Regions from separate parts of the Homo sapiens genome. Here region 1 is linked to region 2. The links are contacts of gene promoters, found by promoter capture Hi-C in blood cells and fetal thymus (Javierre and others, 2016). All regions are on one chromosome and are shown on one strand. Each heading gives the region's core, a stretch centred on a gene start or on the middle of the fragment in contact. The rest is flanking DNA. Distances are from core to core; before and after follow the strand shown. Region 1 has its middle 4.7 kb from the start of EIF1. Region 2 holds the start of KRTAP4-12 (keratin associated protein 4-12).

Region 1 (5,887 bases), core at 3,032-5,531, 560 kb after region 2:
CAGAGGAGTTTGAGACCAGCCTGGCCAACATGCTGAAACCCCATTTCTACAAAAACATACAAAAATTAGCCGGGCTAATTCGGTAATGTGCGCCTGTGATCTCAGCTACTCAGGAGGCTGAGGCAGCAGAATCGCTTGAACCCAGGAGGCAGGGTTGCAGTGAGCTGAGATTGCGCCATTGTACTCCAGCCTGGGCGGCAGAGCAAGACTCCATCTCAAAAACAAACAACAACCCGGGTGCGGTGGCTCACACCTGTAATCCCAGCACTTTGGGAGGCCAAGGCGGGCAGATCACGAGGTCAGAAGTTCGATACCAGCCAGGCCAACATGGTGAAACGCCGTCTCTACTAAAAATACAAAAATTAGGCGAGCGTGGTGGTACACACCTGTAATCCTAGCTACTTGGGAGGCTGAGGCAGGAGAATCACTTGAACCCGGGAGGCGGAGGCCACAGTGAGCCGAGATCGCACCATTGCACTCCAGCCTGGGCAACAAGAACAAAACTCTGACTCAAAATAAATTAATCAATTAATATAACATAATATAAAGCATTGTGAGACTTTACAGTTTTTTTTCATGCTCATTCTTCAGAGCCCTGTGTGTTTTTACACTTACAGTGCATCCTCATTCAGACTGGCCCCATTTCCAGGGTTCAGAAGCCACAGGTGGCTTGTGGCTGCTGTGGCCCTTTGAGAGTTAGAATTAATTTGGGGAAGATGGGTGGGTGCAGAAGAGAGGGGAGGCTGCCCAGAGAGGCACCTCCAGGTGACATGTGCTTGGGGCCAGAGCTGCACACTGGGGACAGCTGAGTGTTGGGGGGTGTGCAGAGGTGTGGCTGAAAGGGGATGAGCAGTGTGTCCCAACTGGTGAGGGTTGTCACCACACGGCACCAGCCCTCTCTGCGTTTCCTCCTGTCCTCTCACAGTGAAAGTGAAGGACTTGATGAGTCTTGCTGCTCGATTACTGCTGGATGAACTCTTGGAGACAGCCCTTATATGAGTTACACTAGTTTAAAAAATGAAATGAAATGAAATGAAAGGAGGGCTAGAGGACCTATGCCTAGGTCCAAGGCAGACTGCTCCACCCAAACACACCTGTAAGCTTGTCCCAGGAAAGTGGCCAGATCTGAACTGATTGCCATCAAACATGTCTAATGCTCTTCCCTCCATCTGGAACATCCACCTGCCCTCAGCTAGAGAACACCTCCTTCAGTGCCCGGTCAGAATATAGAACCCCTCTGTGCACCTGTGTCTGGCACCTCCTCCACGCTTCCTGGGCCCCTGGTTCCTTGGAGTGCTGTCTGAACCCTCGCTAGGCTGTGATCTCCTTGAGGCCCAATGCCAGGCCTGGCCTTCTCCACCTCCCTAGGCTGCACTTTGTATCCTCTCCCACCCACCTCGGCAGTTGAGTCCGCAGTTGGGCCACCTGGATGGCCCTGCCCGGGGAAGAGGAACCAAGGGCTCTGGTCTTTATCTCCCTTCCTAAATGAAGTTTCCCCCCATCTATAGGAGCTCCTGCAGGACTCCCTGAAAAAGGAGGAAAGAGAGGAGGGGAAGGAGTGGGAAGCAGGATGGGGAAGACAGATGCTCTGCCAGCAAAGAGGCAAAGAGGAACTGAGCCAAGTCCCCACCGTGGGTTGGCATAAGTGGGTCCCTGGCAAGGGGAGGGAAAGTAAGAACAAGAAGAAAGGCTGGCCGGGTTGGGAGGTGGCGGTAAAATATAACCGCCATACACACACAACACACACTAGCCATAAGGGTACAGCTCAATAGATTTTTGCCACCTGGATCAAGAGGAAGGTCATTTCCAGCACCCCATAAGGTTCCCCCATGTCAGGCCGGGCGTGGCGCAGTGGCTCACGCCTGTAATCCCAACACTTTGGGAGGCCAAGGCAGGCAGATCACTTGAGGTCAGGAGTTCGAGACCAGCCTGACCAACATGGTGAAACCCCATCTCTACTAAAAATACAAAAATTTGCAAGGCGTGGTGGTGGGTGCCTGTAATGCCAGCTACTTGGGAGGCTGAAGCGGGAGGATCACTTGAACCCGGAAGGCGGATGTTCCAGTGAGCCAAGATCGCACCACTACACTCCAGCCTGGGAGACAGAGTGAGATATCATCTCAAAAAAGAAAAAAAAAAAAGTTTCCCCCATGTCCCTTCCCAGCATCTACCCTAGGCAGGTTTGAAGAATTGATGTATTGCCAGCAGAACCCCAGCTGATGCCCGACCTGCACATCTCATCATTACCCTGTGCAGGCTGCAGATCAAGCTGCAACAGGCCCGGGTCTCCCTCCTTCTCCAAGTGGTAAGAACAGCAGCCTTCATTCACTGGGACCTTCTATGTGCATGGGAGCGGGGGAGGGGGAACTATTCTAGTCACTTACATACGTGGGTCGTTAAGTCCCAAATAAGGAATGCAAGAAATGTGGCATTAATTGGACTTTCTTTAAATCAAGTGAGATCCTTGCCAATTAACATCCCACTGGGCTGCTCAGAAATCCAGCCTTGGAAATGACAGGGGCTCCAGCCCTCCCCAGGATTCTCTCTCGCTCACAAGGTTTTCTAGAGCACCAGAGCTACAAGGAGCCCCTAGACCAGATCATCTATCTGCCTTGGTTACCATGGAGATGTCTATTTTCCCAGAGGGTGCAATCCCTTCCTGGAGGGAGATTCTGCTGCTTCCGTGCCACGTTGGTGGCCTTGGAGAATCTTATTGAGGTCGAGGGTCCCAAGGTGTCCTACACAGCCATGCCCTTGTCACATCCCAAGGAGATCACCATGGAGAGGTGCCCACCTCTGTCCCATCCTCATTCAGAGGGGCTCACTCCTGTCCCCTGCTGCTCTCGGAGGCTCTCTCTCTCCCTTCCCCTCTGGGAAACTGGTATAATCTATATAGTGGTTTCATAACTTTACATTTTTATCCGGCTGTACATAGTCTCCTCTTTAAATCCCCTCAACAGCCTATGAGAAGGGCATTATTGTCTCTGTCGTACAGAGGAGAAAATGCAGGCTGGGAGGGGCTAAGTCGCCCAGGCAACAAGATGGAGATGATATTCAGATACAGACACTCCAGAGCCTGTGCTTTGTACCCTGCCCTTGGCTGCCCAGGTGACAGCATCTCAAAGCCAGGAGCACACTAATAAAGAAGCCAGCATTAACAGCAGGCATGCATGCCACTTTCAAACTAATTACTCCTGCCTCCATGATTACTCCTCAGGCTCCTGGGGCTGGGGTAACCTCCCACACTGGAAGGTAGACTTCGGAAGACCCTTCTGGAAATGCTCCCAACTTGGGAAAACAGCGCTTCAGACTTCAGACCCAGGAAGAGATCACCCAGTGCTCCTTTTATGGGGCATACAACTGAAGCCAAGAGGTAAACCAGGTCACCCACAAAGCTGGTGGCAAGTCAAGAACTGAGTCTCAGGCCTGGTGCGGTGGCTCATGCTTGTAATCCCAGCACTTTGGGAGGCCGAGGTAAAGGATTACTTGAGCCTAGCAGTTCAAGACCAGCCTGGGCAACATAGTGAGACCTCATCTCTACCAAAAATTTAAAAAATTAGCTGGCTATGGTAGCACATGCCTGTAGTCCCAGCTACTCAGGAGGCTGAAACGGATCACTTGAGCCTAGGAGTTCAAGTCTGCAATAAGCTATAATGGCACCATTGCACTCCAGCCTAAGTGACAAAGCCAGACCCTGTCTCAAAAAAAAAAAAAAAAAAAGAACTGAGTCTTGGCCGGGTGTTGTGGCTCACACCTGTAATCCCAGCACTTTGGGAGGCCAAGGCGGGCGGATCATTTGAGGTCAGGAGTTCAAGACCAGCCTGGGCAATGTTGTAAAACCCCTTCTCTACCCAAAATACAAAAATTAGCTGGGCATGGTGGCACCTGCCCGTAATCTCAGTTACTTGGGAGGCTGAGGCAGAAGCATAGCTTGAACTCAGGAGGTGAAAGCTGTGGTGAGCCAAGATCGCACCACTTCACTACAGCCTGGACGACAAAGCGAGATTCTGTCTCAAAAAATATTTTAGTGTGACAAAATATTGCATGCACACTGGGAAGGACAGCTCCAATTCATTCATTCAAACTCTCTCCCAAAACCCTTTCCAGCAGAACAATGTCCGTCAGGGCAAAGTGTTGTGGGATGTCAGGGACTCCCAACAGAGGGACCCGCTGAAGCCATGGCAGAAGAACATAAATTGTGAAGATTTAATGGATATTTATTAGTTCCCCAAATTAATACTTTTATAATTTCTTACGCCTGTCTTTACTGCAATCTCTGAACATAAATTGTGAAGATTTCATGGACACTTATCACTTCCCCAATCAATACCCTTGGGATTTCCTATGCCTGTCTTTACTTTAATCTCTTAATCCTGTCATCATAAGCTGAGGAGGATGTATGTAGCCTCAGGACCGTGATGATTGCATTAACTGCACAAATTGTTTGTAGAGCTTGTGTGTTTGAACAATATGAAATCTGGGCACCTTGAAAAAAGAACAGGATAACAGCAATGTTCAGGGAACAAAGGAGATAACTTTAAACTCTGACTGCCCGTGAGCCGGGCAGAACAGAGCCATATTTCTCTTCTTTCAAAAGCAAATGGGAGAAATATCGCTGAATTCTTTTTCTCAGCAAGGAACATCCCTGAGAAAGAGGATGCGTCCCTGAGGGAGGCCTCTGAAATGGCCACTTTGGGGACAGCTGTCTTTTACGGTCATCGCTGAGGGATGAAATAAGCCCCGGTCTCCTGTAGCGCTCCCAGGCTTATTAGGACGAGGAAATTCCCGCCTAATAAATTTTGGTCAGACCGGTTGTCTGTTCTCAAACCCTGTCTCCTGATAAGATATCATCAATGACAATGTGTGTCTGAAACTTCATTAGCAATTTTAATTTCGCCCCGGTCCTGTGGTCCTGTGGTCTTGCCCTGCCTCCATTTGCCTTGTGATATCTTATTACCTTGTGAAGCACATGATCTCTGTGACCCACACCCTATTCGTACACTCCCTCCCCTTTTGAAAATCACTAATAAAAACTCGCTGGTTTTGCGGCTTGGGGGACATCATGGAACCTGCCGACATGTGATGTCTCCCCCGGACACCCAGCTTTAAAATTTCTCTCTTTTGTACTCTGTCCCTTTATTTCTCGGACCAGCCAACACTTAAGGAAAATAGAGAAGAACCTACGTGAAATGTCGGGGGTGAATTTTGCCTGATAGTAAAGGTTCCCAAGTTGGCTGACTGGGGCCTTAGCTTCTCAAAAGGGGAAGACCATGAGACTGGGATGCCCATGACCTAGCCATGGTTCCTCCTTCCTGATGTCAAGGAAACCAAACTATTAATCAAGTTTATTTAGTAAATATAGAATCAAAACAAAGTATCAGGCCAGGCACACTGGCTCCTGCCTGTAATCCCAGCACTTTAGGAGGCCAAGGCAGGGGGACTGCTTTAAGCAGTTGAGGCTGCAGTAAGCCATGATCATGCCACTGCATTCCAGCCAGTCTGGGTGACAGAGTGAGACCTTGTCTATATATATATATATATACACATACATATATATATACATATATACACAAATACACACACACACATATATACACACACTCATATACATATATATATATATACACACACATACACATATATATATCAGGTACACCTAGCATTTCCTCCCTCAGAGTTTTTCTGAGTTTTCTGGTGGGCACATGCCCTGCCCCACAGTGGACTCCTTCCTACCCTCTGTCAGCCAGAATGCTGCCTCCCCAGAGGCCTTCTCTGACCACCCCATCTGAAGGAGCCTGGCCCTTTCACATCACCCTGTTTACCTCCTTTTTGGCACCTCTCACAATCTGTCATTATCCTTTTTTTTTTTTTTTTGAGACATAGTCTT
Region 2 (5,138 bases), core at 1,611-4,110:
TGTTTTATGCATGCATTTAATGAGGATGTATCTCAATTTGCAACATTAGGTATTGAATGGGATTGGCAAAGATCATGATGGGAAACTTACTTTTGTTCACATTGTCACATTCTTTTGTATTGTCTAAATGTTTAAAGAGCATATATTTGTGTATAAATGATCTAAACATCCTTAGAAAATAATAAATGTGATTTATATAAAATTCATAATTTTTCTACATATTCTGTTAAATATATTTTCTGCTATTATGTTTACATTCTTATTTCTTTCAGGAACTAAAATATTAAAAGTACATTTCAGTCAGTCATTTGAGCTCTCAAATTAGCTATCATGAATTTCAAATTGTTTTGGGGGACAGGCTGGGTTCCCCAGGAAGCAGTCACTGAGATGGAGAGCAATATGCAGGAGGTTTATTGAAGCATGCTCTTGGGATTAACACTGGGGAGGGCAGGGGAGGGGAAAGGGAGGGGAGGGGAAAGGGAAAGGGAAGGGGAAGGGGAGGGAAAGGGAAGGGAAGGGAAGGGAAGGGAAGGGAAGGGAAGGGAAGGGAAGGGAAGGGAAGGGAAAGGAAGGGAAAGTGAGAGAAAGATCAAGTTTGACACTGGGATAAATCAAACTGCAGGGCAATCTCCGTGGAAGTCTCAGATGAACCTATAGGGAGTTCTGGAGATGAGATGACCCATTAGAGGCATCCCTAGTTGGGGAGAAATGTGGGTCTTTATAGTTTCATCCTAAAAAAAGGGCATGACTTTGGACGAAAAGAAAAAAAATCAGTCTCCAGCATACCTGTGAGTTTTCACTAGGCCTGCTTCCTTCATTTCCATCACCTGCCTGGCCGTGAAGGTGGCCCTCTCTACATGGCAGCATGAACTCCCCATTGAAACTCTGCCAGTCAGAATGAAGGAGATCCACTGTGTTTGTGTTGAGGATTCATTACACATGACTCAGTAGAAAATACATGGACTTTGCTAAACCACCTAATAGCTGCTTTTACTGGAAAAAAAAAGAAATTGAAATACAGTGTTTTAAAAGATCACAGCTCTGTGCACAATAGTAAAGACATGGAATCAGTCTAGGTGCCCATCAACAGTGCATTGGATAAAGAACATGTGACATTTTCACACCATGGAATACTACACAGCCATAAAAAAGAATGAAATTTTGTCCTTTGCAGCAACATGGATGTGGCTGGAGGACATTATCTTAAGCAAATTTTTCCAGGAACAGAAAACCAAATATTGCATGTTGTCACTTACAAATGGGAGCTAAACATTGGATACACATGGACACAAAGATGAGAACAATTGGGGACTCCAAAAAGGGGGGAGAGAGGGAGAGAGGAAGGGCTAAAAATGACCCACTGCTCAGTACCTGGTGACAGAATCATTTGTAGCCCAAACCTCAGCATCACACAACATGTAACAAATACGAATATGTACTCTTTGATTCTAAAATAAAAGTTGAAATTATTTTTTAAAAGATGATGAGTTGTGATCAATCTTTCAAAACGTTTCCCCTGTTGTTATATTCATGGATATTTCATGACTTCAGCTTCACTCTTTTTGTCTAAAGAATACAAAATGACTAATTGATTTGCCTAAGCCTGAAAAGACTTTTCTAGAAAAAAACTAGGCAGTGATCGATGTCAGTTGACCTCTGTTAGAAGGTTGACTAATCTGTGCTGTGAGCCCTACAGGTGTAGTTAAATGTAATCACCCAGGACCTAAATATAAAACCCTTTTTAAAAAGAGAATAAGAATCATATTCAATTTTCAGTGCCAATAGAATAGAGGTTTATTTTGGTACATGGAAATAACAAGGTACAAAAATGTTTGCAAAAGACTTTAAGAGAGAGACTTCACTGGACTTCAAGGTTGGAGGCTTTAAGATCTGTGGCCCTACAAATGATGGAGGCAATCTTCAAATTCCTTAGGCATGATGAATAAATGTCCTGAAGTCAAAGAGGTGGGAGGATGTTGGAGGACAATTTGTCAATTTATTAGGAGATTGTCAATGAATTCCTTTGGAAGGAAGGGAGTTTGGACAAAAGGTAGAATGCAAATACAGAATTTCTAAGGATGAGGTTTGCTTATGGGACCCAGATCAATTCTCTTGAACAGTCCGCATGTTTGCAATGAGAGCCTTCATCTGTAGGAAAGGACGTAATAAGGAAGTGGTGTGTTCACAGCAGAGATTTAGCAGCAAGAGGAGGCACAGCACAAGGGGCGGGGGCAGGTGGAGATGACACAGGTTGGGCGATAGCAAGTGGTGTGGCAGGAGACTCGGCCACAGACTGGACGCAGGCAGCAGCAGGGGCGGCAGCAGCTGGATTCACAGCAAGAGGGGCAGCAGCTGCTGGAGATGCAGCAGCTGGGGCGGCAGCAGGTGGGCTGGCAGCACACAGACTGGCAGCACTGGGGTCTGCAGCAGCTGGACACACAGCAGCTGGGGCGGCAGCAAGTGGTCCTGCAGCAGGTGGTCTGACAGCAGCTGGGGCGGCAGCAGGTGGGCTGGCAGCACACAGACTGGCAGCACTGGGGTCTGCAGCAGCTGGACACACAGCAGCTGGGGCGGCAGCAGGTGGTCCTACAGCAGGTGGTCTGACAGCAGCTGGGGCGGCAGCAGGTGGGCTGACAGCACACAGACTGGCAGCACTGGGGCCTGCAGCAGCTGGACACACAGCAGCTGGGGCGGCAGCAGGTGGTCCTGCAGCAGGTGGTCTGGCAGCAGCTGGGGCGGCAGCAGTTCTCCAGGCCACAGCCCTGGTCAGAGCACACAGAGCCACAACAGGAGTTGACCATGGTGTCAGAGGGTGGAGGTTCTCGGTGGGTTTCCAGGAGAGTGAGTGTTCTGAGTTTGATCTCTCCTTGTTCTCTCTTTTGCTTTTTATACCCTGCTGAGAACCACTATGACAATGTGAATAATCTTGTGGTTTGCACATTACTAATAGAGAATCAGTTGTTTTTTAGTAAATTAGATAGTTGTCCTTATCTGGTAAATATTTCTATAAATAGAAAAGGCAACATTTCCTTTTCCTGTTGTATTCTGAGCTATCCAATTTGGTTAAGCCAAGTGAATCAGCTCTCATTCTCCTTCCTTCATCTGATGTGTCTTCTGATGTGTAGACCCATTACATGACATTGTTTGATTGGATTTCATAAGTTAATTCTTTATTTATTTGACTCCTGGATAATAAGTTGAAAATAGATTTTATGATGACTAAATCTCCTCTGCTCTCAAAGAGGTTAAAAATAAATTACATAGAATGCTGGTAGGAAAATGTGATGAAAGATTCATCTTTGGGGGGTGATAGGAGGTAACTTGTGTATAATAAGGAACACTGTGATTCCTTTGAATTTTGTGGCTGGTCAGTGAGATATAAAAGATCCCACTGAAATTCCTGTTTCATGTTATTGACTCTATTTAGCTTGAAACAGATATAATGCAATGATTCATTGCTTTACAAGTAAAAATACATTGGCATGATAGGTCCCTTTATAAATTATTGTTGGCATGTTCTTCAGAGATGGGGATCATAAGGAACATTTTTGTTCTATTTTGTTGGTAAGTCAAGATACCCACTGAATGTGTTTAACTGAAGTGTTATTGAAAGTAGATTTTCTCATACTCGAAAGCTGCTTTTTCTCACAATGTATGTTGGAGATATTTTGCTTGATACATGGAGAAAAGAAACAAAGGATCAAGTTTAATTTCTGTCCTACAGAAGCTTAAACAAGACAAATAAGAAACATGTATAGGAAAGAATTTAGCAACTATTTAGAGAATGGTGTGATTAGTGAACAAAATAACAATTATGTATTTAATCTGTACACTTCCAATGAAAGATGAAACAATACTAATAGTTATAATTTTTTGAGTGCTTACTATGTGTCAGGAATTTTCTGAGTCCTCTATAATTGTTATCTTGTTTATACTTCACAAGGATTCTGCTATGTAGACACAATTTTTCTAAATTCTTTACATCCAAGGTACTTGAGGCCCAGATAGATTGAAGTCACACAGTCTGTAACAGGGAAAGGGCGTCTCTCCTAGAGTGTTCAAGGAACATTTTGCGCATGAACATTTTGCAATTAAATCCCTCCTGATATTTAAAAACAATTATTTATAATTAAAAAGATGCAAGGTATGTTCTCACTCCTAAGTGGGAGTTGAACAATGAGATCACATGGACACAGGGAGGGGAACATCACACACTGGAGCCTGTCGGGGGTGAGGGACAAGGGGAGGGAGAGCATTAGGACAAATACCTGATGCATGTCGGGCTTAAAACCCAGATGACGGATTGATAGGTGCAGCAAACCATCATGGCATATGTATAACTATGTAACAGACCTGCATGTTCTGCACATGTATCCCAAAACTTAAAGTAAAATTTAAAAAAAAAAAATGTATGGTAAGAAACCATCATAAACAAAGTAAAAACACAAATGACTAAATAATAAAAAAAGAACTAGCAATTAATATCACGGACAAAGGGTTAATAGTATATAAAAGACTTCTGAGACTGGACACGGTGGCTCACACCTGTAATCCCAGCACTTTGGGATGCCAAGGCAGGCGGATTGTTTGAGGTTAGGAATTTGAGACCAACTTGGTTAACTTGGCAAAACCCCATCTCTACCAAAAAAACAAAAAAAAGCAAAAAAAAAAAAAAAAATGGCGAGGTGGCATGCATCTGTGGTCTGTGGTCCCAGCTACTCAGGAAGCTAAGGTGGGAGGATTGCCTGAGCCCAGGAGGCGGAGGTTGCAGTGAGCCAAGATTGCACCACTGCACTCCAGCCTGGGTGACAGAAGAAGAAGAAAAAAAGGCTTCTGGAAATAGATAGAAAACAGACCAACAGCCTAATGGGAAAATAAAATGCAAATATTTTACCACCATATAAATATACTCAATCTCATGCATAGTAAGAGAAATGAAATAATATGGTACGATACTTCTCACCTGTTAGATTATCAAAAATTCAAAATCTGATAGCATTCTCTGGAAGTGAGATGATGTGAAAATAGGCATGCTCGTATTTGTCTTGTGAAGGTTTGGCAATAACTAGCAGCATTATTCTTTGACTCAGCTATCCCAATTCCATAAAATATCTCAAAGATACTCAGGTAAATATATG

What was found. The method cuts DNA at HindIII sites, captures the fragments that hold promoters and counts their contacts. A CHiCAGO score of 5 or more calls a contact.
Region 1: a contact is called between a fragment that was not itself captured here and the fragment with the promoter of KRTAP4-12 in region 2, in 2 of 17 cell types (naive CD4 T cells and naive CD8 T cells). The highest score is 6.6, in naive CD4 T cells.

The regions. Positions count from the first base shown.
Region 1 is chr17:41,681,201-41,687,087 of GRCh38, forward strand. No RefSeq gene overlaps it. Among named protein-coding and RNA genes, the nearest start is that of EIF1, 4.7 kb to the right of the region's middle. RefSeq lists a silencer at 819-898. The HindIII fragment of the contact is 6,365 bases long and covers 1,100-5,887 here.
Region 2 is chr17:41,121,322-41,126,459 of GRCh38, forward strand. It overlaps KRTAP4-12 (keratin associated protein 4-12), which reads right to left and starts at 2,861. Exons shown (of 1, transcript NM_031854.3): 1 at 1,770-2,861. The coding sequence starts at 2,801. The coding sequence ends at 2,196. RefSeq lists an enhancer at 1,988-2,541. The HindIII fragment of the contact is 5,176 bases long and covers 1-3,725 here.